Linked DNA regions of Homo sapiens: regions 1 and 2 are each linked to region 3. The links are contacts of gene promoters, found by promoter capture Hi-C in blood cells and fetal thymus (Javierre and others, 2016). All regions are on one chromosome and are shown on one strand. The core of a region is centred on a gene start or on the middle of the fragment in contact, and the rest is flanking DNA. Distances in the headings are between cores, read along the strand shown. Region 1 holds the start of TTBK2 (tau tubulin kinase 2). Region 2 overlaps TMEM87A (transmembrane protein 87A). Region 3 holds the start of LRRC57 (leucine rich repeat containing 57).

Region 1 (3,079 bases), core at 354-2,853, 370 kb before region 3:
ATTTCCGATTTTATTCCGAAAAGCCCAACCATGGGGTCCCAACCATCCCTCTATAACCAATTTAACTGTCACGCTAGGAGAACACCTATGTGCGCAAACTACTTGTCTCGGAAGCCCTACTTCTCTCCTCGGGACAGGCGGGGAGTTGCGGCTATGGCTGGAACTACGAGGCCCAGAATTCCTAGGCGCATGCGCGCTGCCATTGTGATGCTCCTTTCCCGGTAACTCGCCCTCTCAGGCAAACCTGAAGATAGCGGCAATTCTCCGGTGGGGGGCGGAGACGGTTTCTGCCCGACTCTCCGCCCCCTTCGTGATAGGCAATGGGACTAGCCAACCGACGCTGCGAGTTCGGAACGCACTCTCCAATCAGCACCTGTAGCGGAGAGGTGGGCGTGCGCGCTGGCAGGGCAGGTGGGCTAGGCTGTGTCGGGTTACGAGGGGGGAGAATAACGTCGGGTCGGGTCAGCGGGCTCTGCAGTAGTCGCCGCAGCGGCGATGGGAGCGGTGGGGACGAGGCGGCGGCGGCGGCAGGAGGGGGAGCAGGTGCTGGCACAAGAGCAGCGGCTTGGGGGAGCCGGCAGCAGCAGTAACAGCAGCAGCAGCCGCCGCCGCCGCCGCCAGTAAACGCGGACGGTACCCCAGGGGACTACCCAGCCGGCCGGCCCTGGAAGCCGCGCTCGGGTCCCGCCGCAGTCGGCGGTGGGGGATGGGCAGGCAGTGGCGGTCCCGCCTGCCGAGGGTTAACCCCCGCCGGTCCCGGTCCTGAGCTGGACCAGAGCCCTCCTCCAGAAACCCCTGCGTCCGCCACGGCCCAGGTAGGACACACCCCCCGACCCCCCAGGGCGCCGCCCTCCCCCAGTCTCGACCCCCTCCTCCGGCCGCACCCCTCGCCGAGTGACCGAGCCTGCTGAGGAGGGGAGGGGTACCGGGGACTTTCAGTTCGCTGCAAGCCCGGGGCTCGTGCCAGACCCCGTCACTCTCCATCTCGGAGATCGTTCTGGTTCTGCCCGATTTCCCCGAAGGCTGCCGCCTCGTTTTGCCCCAGGCTTTGGGTGTCTTCACTGAACTTGGAGGGTCACGAAGCTTCGTTCTGCGTCTCTCTCTGTGGGTGACCCACATATCACTTGTACCCATGCCACTTCTGGTACCAGCACCGAACACGAAGGATTCCTAGGAAATCTGAGCGCTTATTTCCCACCCCGCCTCCCCAACTATCATGGAAAGGAACATGGGACTACTGAATCTGTTTGCTGTGTTGTAACGACAGTGAAGGCCGCGACTTTCTTGTACTTAGGGTGCTGAAGTAATGATCTGAGGGATTTGCTCGTCATTTGCTGTGGCAGAGATGATGTTGACACCCTGGGATGCTGTGGGAGGGACAAAAGACTCACGTATATGTTCTGTCAAATCGGAGAAGTAAATAATCCATTGGGATGCCAGGATACTTTATTCTACAGCGAAGTTAATTTTGTATCCGTCGAGGCTACAGTAGAGGTAAAAATGACATTGAGTTGTACTTTGCTTTGAATTAAAGTTGATGGGTAGCAGCAATCCTGGTATTAACTCTTCTCTCTCATCGCTTTAGAAATTATTCTTTCTTTGAACATTAAAGAGGACAGTTTTATTATACACTTCTAATAATGTGAAGATGTTTTGTAATTCAGTAGAAATTGAGTTTCTGTGTGTGTAGGAGGGTCATGTTATGAATGGGCACATGTAGACACACACGCAGAGGGAGGATCCACTCAGTGTGTTTTGTTAACAATGTTTGGTTCTGAGCCATTGATAATAGTTGCATTGGTATCTAAACCCTGATTTGCCACAGTATAACACAAAGATGTGTTGGCTGTGTACCTTTGGCTAAATGGAATAGAATAAAGTTCATTTGGGGATAGAAGGGGGAAATGATTTTAACTTATCAAGGGAATTGAATGCTATGTATTGCTTGCTTTATTTCCTTTTTTTTTTTAAATAAAGAAGCAGTAATGATGACAAATATAGCTTAATATGATTAATCTTGAGGCATTTGTCTGAAGTCAAAAAATGTTTCAAATAATGTGTGTGTTATATTGTGATCTATGCAAATTGAAAACATTGAAGGAAATCTTTGATTTAGAAGCTTATGTTTTCCTGTATGATAACATTTTATCAAGACACCGAAGGGGACATATGAAGCATGGTTTTAAAGGAAAGTTTCTCTTAACATTTTTCTTTTATGATAGAATGTTAGGAAATGCTTTCTTCCCTCTTCCAGTTTTAGACACAGAAGAAATTAAAGTCCATAACTTCATTAATTTAATATATAATATCAAGTTGATGCAAATTTGTACATTGGTTAGGGGGCTGAGAATAATATATCTTGCTCATTATCTTGTACTATGGTTAATACATAATTTAGTAAATTCTCTATTGCATTATATATGACTTTAGATTGTTGTATCTTCTTTTGATTTTAAGTGTTGATTATTTTAATACTTCAGGAAATCTTCAAGAGGTTAGACCTCATTTGCTTTAGCAAATTGAACTCAATTATGTGGGGCTTCAAGTATCTTTAAATGTAATACTAGAAGGGAAGTTTGCATAATTTAGACCATTTTCGAGCGTATTTTACTTCTAAAAAGTGCACTAAAAATGTGGCAATGATAAGTTATTGGTTTTTCAAAGTAAATGAATATTACAGATCCGAGTTAGCTGTGATCATGGAATTTAAATTTCACTTTGGTGGGGGGCAGCCACTTTTTTATATGCTTTATAACTTTAAAAAGTAACATATCCAGATGACTGCTTGATTGCAACTCATGAGAGACTCTGAGCCAGAACCACCTACCTAAGACACTTTCAGATTCGAATCCTGAGAAACTGTGTGAGATAATAAATGTTTGCTGCTTTAAAAAAAAAAACCTCATGCCTGTAATCCCAGCACTTTGGGAGGCCAAGGCAGGAGGATCGCTTGAGCCCAGGAGTTTGAGACCAGCCTAAGTAACACAGGGAGATCCTGTCTCTACAAAAAACAAACAAAAATTTAGCCGGGCATGGTGGCTCACACCTGTGGTTCCAGCTACTAGGGAGACTGAGGGGG
Region 2 (3,313 bases), core at 467-2,966, 280 kb after region 3:
GGTATAAATATTTTTAGTATTACTAAGGTCCTTTTACTGAATCATCTTCAAAGTACTCGTGTGAACTTTATTTTCTTCTCTTGTTTTTCTGGTGTTTACATTGCATATATACACTATGTAGACATTATATATTAGTATATATAATGTATATATTAATATATATGCTGTATATACTACATTGAATATTCAGTCACATCTCAGTCGAATTACATTTACAGTTGATACTTTCTGAGAAAAGCATCCTTAGGTGATTTTGTCATTATGCAAACATCATAGAGTATACTTAAAACTGGATGGCACTACACGCCTAGTTTGTATGGTACAGCCTATTGCTCCTAGGCTATAAACCTGTATAACATGTTACTGTACTGAATGCTATAGGTGGTTGTAACACAATGGTAAGTTTTTGTATATCTAAACATAGGAAAGTAGAGTACAAATACGATATTACAATTTTATGGGACCCCCGTTGTATATGTAGTCTTTCATTTACTGAAATGTTATGTAGTGAATGACTGTGATTATGTTGGGGTTGATTCCCTGCATGGTGGTTTTAATCTGTTCTGTGTAGATTAAAGAGGTTTTACTCTTGTGTGCTTGTTAAATGTTTACTGCAAACATGACCTAGGTTTGTCAGGCCGTTGGCTGTGAAGGAATATATTTAGTAGATCCTTTATTTACAAAAGGAGTATTTTACTGCTTTGGAAGAGGAAGCTCAGATATTATCAAGAAATAGGGATTATGTAGAACAAAACTAGTTTGTCTAGTGGAAAAATGACTGTATCTGAATCTAAAGTATCCCATTGTGTGTTCAGTAAAAGCTTCCTTTTAGTTCTGAAACCGGCTTTAATTTAGAGAACGATTGATCGTGGGCAGCTTTATTTCTAGATGAGGGATAAAAATCCTGATGATAGATGTGTGATTCTATGCATACTGTCTTCACGGAAGTGCAAAATTTTAAGTCATAGTTGGATAATTTTATTCTTTTCAATTGTTTAGTGAGTAATTATTACTTATTGCATAGACTGTGGGGAAGTAATAGAAAAATGTTCTTCCCTCATCGAGCTTACATTCTAGTGGGAGTGAAAACAGCAGGTAGAATTTCTCTGAAGAATATATACTGTATCCATGAATATGTAATCAGTCTCCTGACCAGTGACTTATATTTGATTTAGATCAAATCTACTCTGACACTGGCCTTGTGAGATTGGTTTACTGGGTAACCTAGTAACCCTTGTCTTTTGGAATAGCTTGACAGCCTGTTTGCTGTTTTATTCTTTTATTAGGTCCAGTCTTTTTTTCTCGTGTAGTTTGATCTAGTGGTGTTTTGCCAAGTTAAACCAACTGCATTTTTTTTAAGATGGTGTCTCACTCTGTCACCCAGACTGGAGTGCAGTGGTACGATCTTGGCTTACTGCAACCTCCACCTCCCAGGTTCAAGCGATTCTCCTGCCTCAGCCTCCCGAGTAGCTGGGATTACAGGCATGAGTCTCTATGCCCAGCCCTAACTGCGTATTTTGAAGTGTTTATATTTCATTGTTTTTGGAGGATTTGAGGCACTTTATTTTTTGTTGTTGTTTTTTGAGACGGAGTTTTGCTGTGACGCCCAGGCTGGAATGCAGTGGCACGATCTCGGCTCACTGTAACCTCTGCTTCCTGGGTTCAAGCGATTCTTCTGCCTCAGCCTCCCGAGTAGCTGGGACTATAGGCGCGTGCCACCACGCCGGCTAATTTTTGTATTTTTAGCAGAGGTGGGGGTTTCACCATATTGGCCAGGCTGGTCTCGAACTCCCGACCTCAAGTTATCTGCCTGCCTTGGCCTCCCACAGTTCTGGGATTACAGGTGTGAGCCACCGTGCCCGGCCTGAGACACTTTAACATTATCTTTTTCTTTGTTATTTCTGTGCTTTCTCATATTTACCAGTTGTCTTTGATTTTGTACTTTTTGGGGGATGGTATATAGCTTTCCATGGAATAGCTGGGACCATTTTTTTTTTTTTTTTTTTTTTTGAGACGGAGTCTCGCTCTGTCGCCCAGGCCGGACTGCGGATTGCAGTGGCGCAATCTCGGCTCACTGCAAGCTCCGCTTCCCAGGTTCACGCCATTCTCCTGCCTCAGCCTCCCGAGTAGCTGGGACTACAGGCGCCCGCCACCGCGCCCGGCTAATTTTTTGTATTTTTAGTAGAGACGGGGTTTCACCTTGTTAGCCAGGATGGTCTCGATCTCCTGACCTCATGATCCACCCGCCTCGGCCTCCCAAAGTGCTGGGATTACAGGCGTGAGCCACCGCGCCCGACCTTATTGTCTCTTAAAGCCTTTCATTTAAAGTTCTAAATATTGTCTTGTAACATAAACAGCAGTATTTTTGCTGCCAAATTTCCTTACAAGTCTCCTGTTTGGGGGATGTGTTCTTACTGGCTTTTTATTAGTTAATCCTGTCCCTGTATGGATTATTTTGAATAGTTCATAGCCCAATTGCTTTTTATCATTTCCATAAATTCTATCCAACAGGTCAAATTTTTGAACATTCTAATAGAGTCCTTTGAAAATGTGTTGGTCATCTAAAAATTAGTTTGAGAAAACAGTTTAAAAGAAAAAAAAAGGAAGCTTATAATTAGGTTGCTTCTTTTGTTATGAATGAAAAGTAGATTCCTAAATGCAGTCATGTTTATTTTTGTCATGTTTATTATTACATTTATATAAAGTAGGGAGTCTTTAGTATATTTTTCCTTTCATAGCTAGAATCAAAGATAAAAGCGAATACTGACTTCCTCCAGCTAATCAGTCATATAGTCAGATTTACCCTCCCAAGTCTTCAGAATAATGTCTTGATCCATTAGAATACTGTGTTCCAAACTGTGTTTAATGAGCTTTATGAAGCTTCCATGATAACATGAGCTTCCTTGAGGCCTCTTTTAAGGTAGGCTTTGAAAAAAAAAATCTGATACTCTTATCTTTGCTTTTGCTATTTCTACCTTCCACAGCCATGTTTGCTTTTCGTTCATTGCTCTTTCTGTTCTATCTTGATATCTTTCAAGGTCTGAGATAGCAATTTTGCTCTCAGTGGAACTATTATGTATATCATCATTTAACACCATTTAACAGTTGTTAATATTGCCTTGTGACATGCATTCCTAATTTTATTATTGCTTGTCTCTTCAACTAGCCTTTTGAAGGGTCTTAATAATTTGTTTCCACTCGTTTCCCTCTTTAGCCTAACAGTGTGCCATTATACCTTTGTAATACTTGTGCTATTTATTTATTTATTTATTTATTTATGTTTTTTGAGACAGGGTCTCGCTCTGTCGCCCAG
Region 3 (3,259 bases), core at 47-2,546:
AACTTTTCTGTTTTCTTTTTAGTGAAATTTCTCAACTTCCTCTATATATCAAAATTTATTTCCCCATTTTTCTCAATGCCCTTGATCCCACTTGCCCCATGCCCTCCTGTCACTGCATTCCATTATTTCCTCACATGTTCAATTTCTCCCTCTGTTGGCTCCTTCCTCCGACATGCTCCTCTTGCCCAACCTAAAACTGCCACTCCGTGACTCCTTGGGTTAATGTCTCTTTTCTCTCCTTCTCAAAATTAATCTCTTCCTCCATTCACGTTCCAAGGTCTTATCTTTTTAGCCAATACTTTTTTTTTTTTTTTTTTTTTTTTGCCTTTAAAGATGCCAAGGCCGGGCGCGGTGGCTCACGCCTGTAATCCCAGCACTTTGGGAGGCCGAGGCGGGTGGATCACGAGGTCAGGAGATCGGGACCATCCTGGCTTACAAGGTGAAACCCCGTCTCTACTAAACATACAAAAAAAAATTAGCTGGGTGTGGTGGTGGGCGCCTGTAGTCCCAGCTACTCCAGAGGCTGAGGCAGGAGAATCGCTTGAACCAGGAAGGCGGAGGTTGCAGTGAGCCGAGACCACGCCACTGCACTCCAGCCTGGGCGTTAGAGCGAGACTCTGTCTCATATAAATAAATAAATAAATAATAAAATAAAATAAAAATGTCAAAAAAGAGCTTCTGGCGCTCTTCTCTACCCAGCACCTCCCGCCCCAAATACGATTCAACACTTCCCACAAACGAGGGTTGTTGGAAATGCTTGTTCCGCAAGGGGACAGAACGACCCGTATTTCCCATCCCCGCCCTTACACTACAGTCTAGAGGCAGTATCACTGGATGAAAAAAAGGCTGGTAACAGTCTAATCTCCCACAAACTGGACTGGGACAAATTTACCCTACAGACACTCAAAACACAGTCTACCCTAAACACCATCTACTCAGATCCCCGCTTTCCAAGCATCCACGGCAGAACGTTCGCGGCTGTTGCCTGGAAGGGGCTCTTATTACTCTAGTACAGACCCCAACCAGGACCCTCACCACTCCCACAGCCAGCAGCACCAACTCACAGCCATATTGTTGCCACCTTGGGCACCCCCTTGATGACACCACCGCCACCCCCACGTACCTGATTGACCATCCCCGAAGCTATGAAGTGGCCTAGCACTAGCCCAGCGCCGTTAGGCGCGGACGCCGGGTCCCACGGGTTGGCAGCGGCCATGGCTCGGACGCACCTTCCGCGAAGGCGCCAAGAGTGAGCGGGATCGCAGGGCGAACGCACGGCGCGGCTCGATGACGTCACAGGGCGTTCCCGCCCGGGACTAAGCCGGGGAGCGCATCCCGGCTACTGCGGGTCCTGGGTCTTCACCTGCGGAGCCTTACGGCAGCTGAGCGGTGGGAGGCGAGTCCGGGGCTCCCTGATCTTCCGTAGGCTCCCAGAGGCGCCTGGCCTCCGCAGAGCTGCAAAGGCGGCAGGGCTTGGTGGTCGGGCTGTGTGTTCTTCCGTTTCTTCCTTGTCGCTCTTGGGTCGGGCCCCAGGAGCCAGGGATCGGCGGGAGTTGAGAGCTGGGGCAGGAGCCCCAGCCGGGAGGCCGACCGGGTGGACTGGGCGGTGACAGCAGCGCTTCCTTCCCGCAGGGACCTGAGCCGCGGCGCTAGGATGGGAAACAGTGCGCTCCGCGCTCATGTGGAAACGGCGCAGAAAACTGGTGTCTTTCAGCTTAAGGACCGAGGGCTGACCGAGGTGAGACTGGGAGGGACACGACCAGGGAACTTAAAGGGAGAGGGACGGCGGGGGCGGCGAACTTAGTCGGTGCGGGATTCCCCACGCTGTGAACTCCTTTCTCCAGTTCCCCGCAGACTTGCAGAAGCTGACGAGCAATCTCAGGACCATCGACTTGTCCAACAACAAGATCGAAAGCCTACCGCCTTTGCTGATAGGAAAGTTCACTCTGCTGAAGAGCCTCTCCCTGAACAACAACAAACTGAGTATGGCTCTCGCCAGGGAGGCTTTTGCTAGTGATCAGCTGTTACCAGGGGTGGTTTTCTCTTACAAGCTGATTTTTGTTTTTGTTATGAAACCGTGCAGGAGGGCTCAAGTTGCGAATGCCGGAATCCTTGAAGCCTTCTTTCTACTTCTTGTAATTACATCTAAAATAAGCCTTATAATGATTGGGTGTTATAATGATTGTTACTGGGTTAATTTGGACTTGAAAGAGAAGAACATTTTGGGGATGTAATGTAAACAAAGCTACCTAACTTGGAATGGGGGATGGATGAGAAGGGGAGGATCTTCCAAATATCACAAAATTGCTGTCGGATTGTGCCTTGGGCCCCTTTACAAAAGGAGCCCATTATACACACAAATGCTCTCCGGCATTTTGATGGCACCCTCACCTTCTAAAGACTATGTTGGTAAAATGCAATATCTAAAAATGGCACATGTGGGAGTTTTACATATATTAACAAGAGGCGAAGCAGGCTGCCATATAGTCTTTATAAACTTCATCAAAGTTGTTTTCAGCTCTATCACATTCAGGTTTTAAAAAAATTTTTCTTTGCCAGCTGTTCTGCCTGATGAGATATGCAATCTGAAAAAACTAGAGACGCTAAGCCTAAACAACAATCACCTTAGAGAGCTGCCGTCTACCTTTGGGCAACTCTCTGCCCTCAAGACCCTGAGCCTCTCTGGGAACCAACTGGGAGCATTACCTCCCCAACTTTGTAGCCTACGGCACCTGGATGTGATGGATCTCTCTAAGAACCAGATTCGAAGTATACCTGACTCAGTGGGAGAGCTGCAAGTCATCGAACTCAACCTCAACCAGAATCAGGTCTAGAGCTTTAAGGTTTTTTTTCCTACAGCATATGTGTGGCTTTAAGGTCTCCTGATACCTGTTAACCTCTTGTTTCCTAAACTGCCATCATAGAGCTAAGTATCAGAGGCTAAATGAGAGGTTTCTTCTATAGGCTGAACTAATTTCAAGGCCCAAAGTGCCATGGAATTAGTTGAGACACTGGATGTGTTAGTTGTGTAGGTGTTTTGGGGAGGGTGGGGTAGGTAACAGGGAGAGATCATTTCAAAAGTTAAACTACTGTCTCACAAATCTTGAAGACTTCTTCAGATCCTCCTCAAATATATGCCCCTAACCAGCTAGCCAGGAGCTATGTCAGGGATATAATGTGGAAATGAGGCCTAAACTGAGGTTCTCAGAGTCGGGAGTCAGAGGTAATTCAGTTTTGTTTTTCGTTTTGTGTGGGGTTT

The links. The method cuts DNA at HindIII sites, captures the fragments that hold promoters and counts their contacts. A CHiCAGO score of 5 or more calls a contact.
Region 1: a contact is called between a fragment that was not itself captured here and the fragment with the promoter of LRRC57 in region 3, in 2 of 17 cell types (fetal thymus and naive CD4 T cells). The highest score is 6.0, in fetal thymus.
Region 2: a contact is called between a fragment that was not itself captured here and the fragment with the promoter of LRRC57 in region 3, in 1 of 17 cell types (fetal thymus). The highest score is 6.9, in fetal thymus.

What each region holds. Positions count from the first base shown.
Region 1 is chr15:42,918,174-42,921,252 of GRCh38, reverse strand. TTBK2 (tau tubulin kinase 2) reads left to right here and starts at 475. Exons shown (of 15, transcript NM_173500.4): 1 at 475-815. RefSeq lists enhancers at 156-656, 657-1,157 and a silencer at 474-883. The HindIII fragment of the contact is 1,036 bases long and covers 1,086-2,121 here.
Region 2 is chr15:42,268,640-42,271,952 of GRCh38, reverse strand. All of the region lies in intron 2 of TMEM87A (transmembrane protein 87A), which reads left to right. Among named protein-coding and RNA genes, the nearest start is that of GANC, 2.9 kb to the left of the region's middle. The HindIII fragment of the contact is 1,786 bases long and covers 824-2,609 here.
Region 3 is chr15:42,546,830-42,550,088 of GRCh38, reverse strand. It overlaps LRRC57 (leucine rich repeat containing 57), which reads left to right and starts at 1,296. Exons shown (of 6, transcript NM_153260.3): 1 at 1,296-1,396; 2 at 1,633-1,738; 3 at 1,845-1,983; 4 at 2,560-2,828. The coding sequence starts at 1,655. It overlaps HAUS2 (HAUS augmin like complex subunit 2), which reads right to left and starts at 1,251. Exons shown (of 6, transcript NM_018097.3): 1 at 1,124-1,251. The coding sequence starts at 1,216. RefSeq lists an enhancer at 991-1,460. The HindIII fragment of the contact is 3,855 bases long and covers 1-3,259 here.